Regions from separate parts of the Homo sapiens genome. Here region 2 is linked to region 1. The links are contacts of gene promoters, found by promoter capture Hi-C in human tissues and cell types (Jung and others, 2019). All regions are on one chromosome and are shown on one strand. Each heading gives the region's core, a stretch centred on a gene start or on the middle of the fragment in contact. The rest is flanking DNA. Distances are from core to core; before and after follow the strand shown.

Region 1 (5,446 bases), core at 1,598-4,097:
CAAAAGGCTTATCTGAGAGGACCAAGCCCCGCTACCTCTGAATGGCGCTTGTAAAAGAACCATTCCGAAGATGGTCAAGACAGCATGTCCAAATGTGAATGCTTTCCAACTTTTACCGTTCATGTTAAACACAACCAACAGAATTGGATGACCCAGGTCCCTGGAAGTCTCCAAAGCCCATTTTAAAAGGCAGATAGATGTCTTTCTGGCCACATTCATTTGTACGGCCATGCCTCTCACCCTCCCTGGGAGGAACTATTCCCTGAGGCCTCCAGAACCGCCCAACATTCATTACCAAGCCTTGACCTCCGGCAAGGACCACACCTCCCTGCAAACCGCGATTCAGGGGTGGAGGGTGCGACCTAAGTCACATGGCCAAAAAAAAAAAAAAAAAAAAAAAAAAAAGTCAGCTCTGAAACCTGGCTCATCAGGAGGACTCATGAGTGAAGTTAACCACCATTACTTGATCAGACTCCTATGCTGCCTGAAGCCGGGTTATTTTAAACCTCTCGGGGGACTCCCAGCCAAATTTAAAACCACCTTGGCAAGCCCAAAAAAGTAGCAGGCATCCAGTTAAATGAGTCCTTAGTCATCCCTAAAAGGCTCGAAGTAAAGTGCGCCGCGTCCCCCCTCGGTTTCAACCACTTCTCTGCAACCCGACAAGAGAATTAAATAAAAGATACGCCATCTGACTTCCCCGCTGCCAGCGTCTCCCAGGTGGGGTGGCCCCACCGTCGCGGGGTGCGGGAGAGTCCCGGGGGCGGGGCGGGACAGGGGAGGGGCGGACACCACTCCCCGCGAAGCCACGCACCGCACTCGCTCTGCCCGCCAGTTTAAGGCTCTCCGTGGCTCCCGGAGGCCGGGGACAATTAAGGAGAGAGTGAGCTTTCCGCCAATGCACATTTAAATTATTTAAAGAGTTAAACCGCATCTTATCCAACATGTTTGCACCCTTTCGGCCGAGTGCAGTGTCCCGAACGCCCAGGAACGCTGCCTGGCCAAAGGTTAACTAACCCCAGAGCTCCGGGGGAGAGGGCGACGCCGCTAACCTGTATGCACTCTGTAATGGGCTTTGAGATGGGAGGATTTTCCATAGACTTTCCCACAGCCACTGTAGGGGCACTTGTGCCTCTTTTCGGAGGCGTGTTTCCCCTTCGCAGCCACTCCAGGATGGAGGAGGGAGAGCGGGCTGGGCGCGCTGCCAGGATCCTGTCTCTCCTCCGGGCTGTGGGAAGGACTCGACCCAGATTCGGTGGTCACGTCGCTGTCGGATCCCATATCCTCATCTGGACTTTCCAGACTGTCGCTGCACACGGAGGGGGTCTGGATGGGTCGGTACTTGTTCAGGTCCAACAAGCTCTTGGCGATGGTGACCAGTGTGCAGTAATCCTTCCAGGTGTCCCCCGGGTCACCGTGCTCCTTGGTCACCTCGCGCTCAGGTAGTCGCAGCCGCTCGGCGTCCGGAGCGACCCCATGCTCCGGCACCGCAGCGCGGTTCGAAATGGAAACCAGACACTGGGCAGCCACGAAGTCCATGTAGGCGGCCGCGGACATGGTGCGGGCGACGGCAGCCCAGGCGGCGCGGACAAACTTGGCGGTGGCTGCGGAGGTTCGGCTCGCCCTGCCCTGGCCTCGGACGACGAGCGCGGCGCGGCGCGGCACGGCGCGGCGGCCAAGGGGGCGGGGGCGCGGGGCGCTTCCGACTCGCAGGAGCGCCGAGGCGACCTCAGCCCCTCATCTTTACGTAACCGGCAGCGCCTCCGCACGCAGCATCCACGGCCCCGGGCTCCGCCGCGCCGCCGCCTCTAGCCGCCGCCCCTGCCCCGCGCCGGCCGCGATCCCCCGACGGGCGCGCCGGCCCCTCTGAGCCGGCTCCCTTGGAAAGATGCCACACGTGGCGGTCGCAAGTTTATTCGACTGAAAACGCCCCCGAGGCGCTGGGAGAGGAAACTGCAAGAGAGGTGCACGCCCTCGGCCGCCTCGCCGTCGAGCCAAAGCCCCAGGACATTCACCCGATCACCCCGACGCGGGTGGCGAGGGTCCCGCCGAGCGCCAGGTCTAAGAGACACTTTTTCCCGAGTCCACTGACGGCTTCTGAACCCCTGCTCCGGCCGGTCCGCACCGTTCCGGCATTCTCTTGCTCAGTAACAATTTCGCAGAATCCCATCACGTCACAAACCAAACCCCCTCCAATTGGCCAGTGGGGAGGGTGATTCAACTCTGTTTACTTTCTCCCCCTGCCAGTCAGAACGGCCTTCGGTGGAGAGGTGCGTCTAGAACTGAGGCGTGCGGCCAATCCGACTGTTCCGTTTCGCTGCCTCGTGCTACCCCTACAGCCTCGAACACTGACATTTAAAAGGGTAACAGCTGGGAGGCAGGGAAGGGGCAGCCGCACACTTTCGGAGTGCCTCGCGGTCCCGTGGCCGGTCCGGGCCTCCTGGCTCACGTTCCAGCTTGCGGAGCTTTGGGACACATCTTTCCTAGTCAGTTGCGCTCGTTCCTATGGCAAAAGAGAACTTCAGCTTCGGTTTTCCAGCTCCCAAACAGTTAAGTGACTTCCTGCAAACGCTACAGTCCCAGCAACCAGCCTTCCAATCAAAAGTAAGTTGGTTGATGTCACTGGCATTGGCTCGGCCAATCACAAGGGCGTTCCGAAAGCAAGCGCTCGACACTTGTAAACGCGAAGAGCTGTAGTGAAACTGGACACATCTTTGTATTTTGTGTTGCTGGTAGTAAATTTGAGTTATGGATGAGAGGACAGGGGTGATGAATAAATGCAGTGTGAATCTATAATTAAAAAAACCCCATTATGTCAGGATAAGTCCAAGAATAAACACAAATGAGTAAGAATTCGTTTTGTTATATATTTTTTGGATGCAGCATACTTTGGGGCAGATGTTTAAAAATTCTTCCATCCAATACATTAACTATGACCAATTCATCTTAAAAATGCAGTGCTAACAAAAGTTCTGGTTTTACAGCATAGCCTTTTTACTGCCTGAGATTCTTCCATTGAAACATCCCATCTTTGCTTGTCATATCTCTTAATTCCTCTACTTCTCTGGTGCAATTTAGTCTAAATAAATTCTTTTAGCTTTATTTGGAGGCTATTTTTAACCCACTTTCAGAAAAACGGAGACAAAAACCATTCATTTGTGTAACTTTTATAAAAAACCCACCATTCTTAGCTCTTTTTCTTTCCAGAGCCCCTGCATGGTTTTTAGGACATGTTTCTCTTCCCTCACTTCACAAATGTGGAAACTGAGTTACAGAGAAGTGACTTATTTATCTTATTAGACAGATAATGATAGAACTCAATAGAAACCACAAGTCTCCTGATTTCTAGCTCTTTGTGCTTGCAACTAAGCCCTTTTGGTTTTGTGAAATATTAACTGTGCAGAACAGATTTTTAGGGACTGGAACAAGCTGGAAATCCTTAGCCATGGAATACTGTGGCATTACTTGGTCAACAATTAGTATGGGTCTTGGAGTCTGATTAACTTGGTTTACCCCTCCGTCTGAATTAACGATGTGGTTGTTTTCCATCTTGATAGCTAGAAAAGAATCTAGGGCTAGTTCTTTTTGCAAGAGGCATACTGTCAGCACAATTCATTAAAAATAATTCACTTTCGTGAATGTGAGAGGTACCTGATTCTATGTGATGCAGATTCGGTGAGTTCCAACCCTGACCCCCCACTGGCTATTAACCTTTGTTAAGAGAAAGTTACACCAGGTTCTGGTCTCCGAGGCAAGGGTCTCAAATTGACTCTACCAATGTGAGATCTACAGTAGTTTCTTTTGACTTTGTTTTTAAAGTGGTACATCAAAAATAATAATAATAAAAAAAAAGTTAGCCAGGCGTGGTGGCTCGCACCTGTAGTCCCAGCTACTCAGGAGGCTGAGGCTGAAGGACTGCGTCAGCCTAGGTCAAGGCTGCAGTGAGCCCTGATTACACCACTGTACTACTCCAGCCTGGGCAACAGAGCAAGGCCCTGTTTTTTTTGTTTTTTTTTAAATCATAACTAAGGGTGGCTCAGGTAAGTAAGAGTATAATAGATTTTAATTAAAAAATAACAAACCTGACAAGACCAGTTCAATAAAAGTGTACAGCTTAAAAAAATAAAGAAAACAACAACAAAAATATTAAAGTGGTACAGGGAAGATATTGCAGTAGGTGACTGCAGGTGGAAGAAAGGTGTAGATAGGGGATACTGGGCAACCAAGAATATCATCACCATCAGCATCATTATCACCGACCCCTTTCATGGAGGGCTTACTCTGTGTCAGGCCCTGTACCAAGCACCCTGCATGCATCCCTGTAAGGTAGGTATACAGTGTATAAAAAACTCCAAGCCATCTTGGAGTTCTTGCATTTTTAGAACTTAATCTCTTAATTTTAGAAAAGAATTCACTGAAGCCCAGGGGAGTTTGCCTACTTCATGATTTTTCTGGGACAAATTTTGTCCCCTAGGATACACGATCACTTAGAAATTGCACCTTTGCCTGCCTCAAGGCCCAGTGCATATACCAGCGGGATCTCTCCAGGATCTCTATGATCATGGCCTGTACAACCCCTCAGACTTGCATTTTAACTGGGATTGTACTGGTGAAACAGACTGCTCGGGCCTGGACATCTATAGACAGCCCTAGGACCACCATCATCATTATTCCAGAATAGAGGAAAAGTCTGTATCTTTCCTTGAAGATTATATAATCCAGGAATTTGAATACATCAGTCACTTTAGGTTTTTTAAAAATATAAACTTTTCCCTTCCTTACTCCTTGCCAGCTTTTCTTTAATTCCCTTTAATTTCACTTTGTTTGAACTGGACATAAACACTGAATTCTCCAAACTCACTCATTTCAGAGTTACAAAAGAAAGTAATGAAAGAAAACTGAGATTTCATCTACATGAATTTCTCACACATTTACAAACATAACTGCTGCTTGACTTGATTTAGAATATCTTTTTAAACCCAGCAATTCTAGAACTGTAGAATGCTTTCTCTTTTTTCTCCTTTTCCACTCATTCATTCTCCAGATATTTATGTTCCTGGCAATGAGCTAGGCATGGGGGAATACAGAAATGAAAAGAGACTCTGTCCTCCATGAAGTTTATATGTTAAAAACGTATATATAAAATAACATATCAGCAAATAATTATTTCTATGTCAGGATTTTTTTCTTCTATTTTCAACAGTGAAGTTTCCTTGGGGGTGTTGGAATGCGTATTATAATAGTTTTATGATTAAAACCGGCTTGGGCTGTTTTGCCAGCATGTGGTTGTCCCAATTAAATGTTGGCAAAATAAATGATCCCAAATTAATATGAATCATTCCTAATTAAAATAATTTATCACTAAAGTATATATTATGCCACATAAATGTAAGAGGGCTGTTTTCCCCCAAGTTAGTCTTTGTAAATACACATTTTCAAAATCCAAACA
Region 2 (5,446 bases), core at 1,753-4,252, 1.4 Mb after region 1:
AAAAAAACAAACAACCCCATCAAAAAGTGGGCAAAGGATATGAACAGACATTGTTCAAAAGAAGACATTTATGCAGCCAACAAACATACGAAAAAAAGCTCATCATCACTGGTCATTAGAGAAATGCAAATCAAAACCATGATAAGACACCATCTCATGCCAGTTAAAATGGCGATTATTAAAAAAGTCAGGAAACAACAGATGCTGGCCAGGCTGTGGAGAAATAGGAACGCTTTTACACTGTTGGTGGGAGTATAAACTAGCTCAATCATTGTGGAAGACAGTGGGGCGATTCCTCAAGGATCTAGAACCAGAAATACTATTTGACTCGGCAATCCCATTACTGGGTATATACCCAGAGGATTATAAATCATTCTACTATAAAGACACATGCACATGTACGTTTACTGCAGCACTACTTACAATAGCAAAGACTTGGAACCAACCCAAATGCCCATCAATGATAGACTGGATAAAGAAAATGTGGCATATATACACCATGGAATACTATGCAGCCATTAAAAAGGATGAGTTCATGTGCTTTGCAGGGACATAGATGAATCTGCAAGCCATCATTCTCAGCAAACTAACACAGGAACAGAAAACCAAACACCACATGTTCTCACTCATAAGTGGGAGGTGAACAATGAGAACATATGGAAACAGGGAGGGGAACATCATGCACTGGGCCTGTTGGGGGGGTGTGGCGCAAGGGGAGGGAGAATATTAGGATGAATACCTAATGCATGTGCGGCTTAAAACCTAGACGACAAGGCCGGGCGTGGTGGCTCACACCTGTAATCCCAGCACTTTGGGAGGCCAAGGCGGGCAGATCACGAGGTCAGGAGATCGAGACCATCCTGGCTAACACGGTGAAACTCCATCTCTACTAAAAATACAAAAAAAAAAAAATTAGCCGGGCGTGGTGGTGGGCGCCTGTAGTCCCAGCTACTCGGGAGGCCGAGGCATGAGAACGGCATGAACCCGGGAGGCGGAGCTTGCAGTGAGCCGAGATAGCACCACTGCACTCCAGCCTGGGCGAAAGAGCGAGACTCCGTCTCAAAAAAAAAAAAAAAAAACCTAGATGACAGGTTGATAGTAACAAACCTGCACATTTTGCACATGCATCCTAGAACTTAAATAAAATTTTAAAAATAAATCTATTTTTGTCCTCACAGCATGCAGTCTACCCTGAAGTACCTCTAGAATTTTTCTATCAGGAGGGATTACGACAGCAATCTGGATGAAAATAGAGCCCAGGAAACTTGTCTTAAGAGATATGTGTGTATAGAAAGCACATTAAAACAAATCAACAAACAAAAAAGTTATGTTTCTATCATACTGTATTATATTAAGTATGCAATACCACTGTGCCTAAAAAAGCAATGTACATACCTTCATTTTAAAATATCTTGCTGCAAAAAAAAAAAAAATCTTGTCGCTAAAAAAGGCTACCAATCATCCAAACCTTCAGCAAGTTGTAATCTTTTTGTTGGTGGAGGCTCTTATATCAGTGTTGATGGCTGCTAACCAGGATGGTGGTTGCTGAAGGTTGGAATAGCTGTGGCAATTTCTTAAAGTAATAGTGAGGTTTGCTGCATCAGTTGATTCTTCCATTCAGGAAAGATTTCTCTGAAGCATAAGATGCTGTCTGATAGCATTTTCTCTATATAACTTCTTTCAAAATTGGTGTAAATGCTCTCAAACTCTGCTGCTGCTTTATTAACTAAGGTTATGTCATATTTTAAATCCTTTGTTGTGTCATCTCAATAATGTTCACAGCATCCTTACCAGGAGGAGATTCCATCTCAAGAAACCACTTTCTTTGCTCATCCATAAGAAGCAACACCTCAACTGTTCAAGATTGTGTTTTCTTTTTTGAGACAAGATCTTGCTCTGTTGCCTAGGCTGGAGTGCAGTAGTATGATCATGACTCACTGCAGCCTCCATCTCCTGGGCTGAAGCAATCCTCCTGCCTCAGCCTTCCAAGTAGCTGGGACTACAAGCACATGCTATCATACCCAGCTAATTTTTTAAAAAAAACTATTTTAATAGAGATAAGGTCTCACTATGTTGCCCAGGCATGTCTCAAACTCCTGAGCACAAGTGATCCTCCTGCCTCAGCCTCCTAAAGTGCTGAGATTACAGTCATGATTACTAGGATTACAGGGCCACTTCACCGGGCCCTGTTCAAGTTTTATCATGAAGTTGCAGCAATTCAGTCACATTGTCAAGCTCCACTTCTAATTCTCCTGCTATTTCCACTACATCAGTACTTACTTCCTCCACTGAAGTCTTAAACTCCTCAAAGTCATCCATGAGGGTTGAAATCAACTTCTTCCAAACTCCTGCTAATGTTGCTATTTTGACCTCCTCCCATGAATCACAAATCTTTTTTTTTGAGATGGAGTCTCACTCTGTTGGCCAGCCTGGAGTGCAGTGGCACGATCTTGGCTCACTGCAACCTCGGCCTCCCAGGTTCAAGCAATTCTCCTGCCTCAGCCTCCTGAGTAGCTGGGATTACAGGTGCCTGCCACCACACCTGACTAATTTTTGTATTTTTAGTAGAGATGGGGTTTTGCCATGTTGGCCAGGCTGGTCTTGAACTCCTGACCTCAGGTGATCCACCCACCTTGGCCTCTCAAATGCTGGGATTACAGGTGTGAGCCACCGTGTAGGGCCCACAAATGTTCTTAGTGACATCCAGATTGGTGACTCCTTTCCAGAAGGTTTTCAATTTACTTTGCCCAGATTCACCAGATTTACTATCTATGGCAGCTATAGCCCTATAAAATGTATCTCTTAATAAGACCTGAAAGTCAAAATTATTCCTTGATCCATGGGCTGCAGCTTGGATGTTGCATTAGCCACTATAAAAACACTAATCTCCTTGTACATCTCTATCGAGCTCTTAGGGTGCATTGACAATGCGCAGTAACATTTTGAAAGAATTCTTTTTTTCTGAGCAGTAGGTCTCAAAAAATGGGCTTAAAATATCCAGTTATCAAGCTGTAAACAGATGTGCTATTATCCAGGCTTTGTTGTTCCATTGATAGAACATAGGCAGAGTAGATTTACATAATTCTTAAGTGCCCTAAGATTTCCAGAATGGTAAATGAACACTGGCTTCAACTGAATGGTAAATGAACACTGGCTTCAACTGAAAGTGACAAGCTACATTAGCTTTATATATATATTATATATTTATATATATAATATAATATTTATATATTATATATATTAGCTTTATATATAGCTATAAATATATATAATAAATATATATAAATAAATATATACATATATAAATAAATATATATAAATAAATATGTGTGTGTGTGTGTGTATATATATATATATATATATATATATTCTTTTTTTTTTTTTTTTTTTCCCTGAGACAGGATCATGTTCTGTCACCCAGGCTGGAGTACAGTGGTATAACCATAGCTCACTGTAGCCTTGAAATCCTGGACTCACGTCATCCTCTGGCTTCAGCCTCCTAAGTAGCTGGGACTACAGGCATACGCCATCACCTTCAACTAATTTTTTCTTTTTCTTTTTTGAGACAGAGTTTCACTCTGCTGCCCAGGCTGGAGGTAGTGGCGCGATCTCGGCTCACTGCAACCTCCGCCTTTGGGTTCAAGTGATTCTCCTGCCTCAGCCTCCCAAATAGCTGGGATTACAGGTGTGTACCACCATGCCCAGCTAATTTTTGTATTTTTGGTAGACAGGGATTACAGGCGTGAGCCACTGCGCCTGGCTAATTTTTTCTGTCTTTTGCAGAAATAGGGTCTCTAACCTGGATTAGGCTTTGGCCTAAGGGAATGTTGTGGCTGGTCTGATCTTTCTAGAACACTTAAAAAACTTTCTTCCTATGACCAATATGGTTGTTTCACTTTCTTATCCATGTATTCATTGGAGTATCACTTTTAATTATCTTCAAGAACTTTTGCCTTCCATTCATAACTTCTTAACTGTTGGGTACAAGAGACCTAGCTTTTAACCTGTCTTAGCCTTACACATACCTTCCTCACTAAGCTTAACAATTTCCAGCCTTTGATTTAACATGAAAGACTAATGACTCATCCTTTCACTTGAACAGTTAGAGGCCATTGCAGGGGTTTTTACATTATATATACATATATAAAATATATAATATATATATAAAATACATATAATATATATGCTGCTTATATCAAAGGACTTTTAAATAATCCTATAATATACGTGAAAGGGCTCTTAAAATTGTAAAGCTATATTCTATTCCAATTATTATTAGAGAAAATGAGCATGATGTCTGTGTATAATATATATATATTATATATATGTATATATTATATATATAATATAGAGTATGTATATTATATATAGTATATACATTTATATATTATATATAGTATATATAGTAGTATATATAATCATATATTATATATACTATATATAATATATATTAAATATAGTATATATATTATATATAGTATATATATTATATATTATATATAGTATATATAGTATATATTATATATAGTATATAGTCTATATATTATATATTGTATATAGTCTATATATTATATATATTACATATAGTCTATATATTATTATATATTATATATAGTATATATATTATTATATATAATATATATTATATATATACTATATATAATTTATATATTATTATATATATATATTATAATATATATATTGGAGACAAGGTCTTGCTCTGTCACCCAGGCTGGTTGTTGCCAACCTCTCTGCCTCCCAGGCTTAAGTGATCCTCTCACCTCAGCCTCCCAAGGAGCTGGGACTACAGGTGTGTGCCACCACACCTGGCTGATTTTGGGGTTTTTGGTAGAGACAGGGCTTTTCCACATTACCCAGGCTGGTCTTAAACTCCCAAGCTCATGTGATTTGCCCACCTCAACCTCCCAAAGTGATGGGATTACAGGCGTGAGCCACAGCACCTGGCCATCGCAGTTATTAATTGGCCTAATTTCAATATTGTTATGTCTCAGGAAATAGGGAGGCCTGAGGAGAGGGAGAGAGATGAGGGAATGGCTGGTTGGTGGAGCAGTCAGGACACACACATTTATCCATGAAGTTTGCCATCTTAGTCATCTTATATGAGCGTGTTTCATGGCACCCCCAAACAATTACCATAATAACCTCAAAGATCACTGATTACAGATCACCATAACAGATACAGTAATAATATGAAGTTTGACATATTGTAAGAATTACCAAAATGTGACACAGAGACACAAAATGAGCACATGCTGTTGGAAAAAATGACACCGATAGACTTGCTTGACGCAGGGTTGCCATGAACCTTCAATTTGTAAAAAACAAAAGCAGTATCTGCAAAGCACAATAAAGCAAAGCAAAATAAAATAAGTTGTCTCATTACACTTTATTTTAGGAGGTCTACAGTTTATTTTAGGCTATGAAG

The links. The method cuts DNA at HindIII sites, captures the fragments that hold promoters and counts their contacts. A contact is called where the count stands out against the background at its distance.
Region 2: a fragment that was not itself captured here is called in contact with the fragment with the promoter of KLF9 in region 1 in 1 of the 25 tissues and cell types used here (dorsolateral prefrontal cortex).

What each region holds. Positions count from the first base shown.
Region 1 is chr9:70,411,810-70,417,255 of GRCh38, forward strand. It overlaps KLF9 (KLF transcription factor 9), which reads right to left and starts at 2,848. Exons shown (of 2, transcript NM_001206.4): 1 at 1,050-2,848. The coding sequence starts at 1,554. KLF9-DT (KLF9 divergent transcript) reads left to right here and starts at 2,381. Exons shown (of 4, transcript XR_001746710.3): 1 at 2,381-2,601. It overlaps LOC124900273 (a long non-coding RNA gene), which reads right to left and starts at 997. Exons shown (of 2, transcript XR_007061576.1): 1 at 541-997. RefSeq lists silencers at 613-805, 1,541-1,720, enhancers at 881-990, 1,329-2,182, 2,011-2,090, 2,431-2,560 and a promoter at 1,897-2,699. The HindIII fragment of the contact is 13,608 bases long and covers 1-5,446 here.
Region 2 is chr9:71,849,255-71,854,700 of GRCh38, forward strand. No RefSeq gene overlaps it. Among named protein-coding and RNA genes, the nearest start is that of ABHD17B, 59 kb to the right of the region's middle. The HindIII fragment of the contact is 6,828 bases long and covers 1-5,446 here.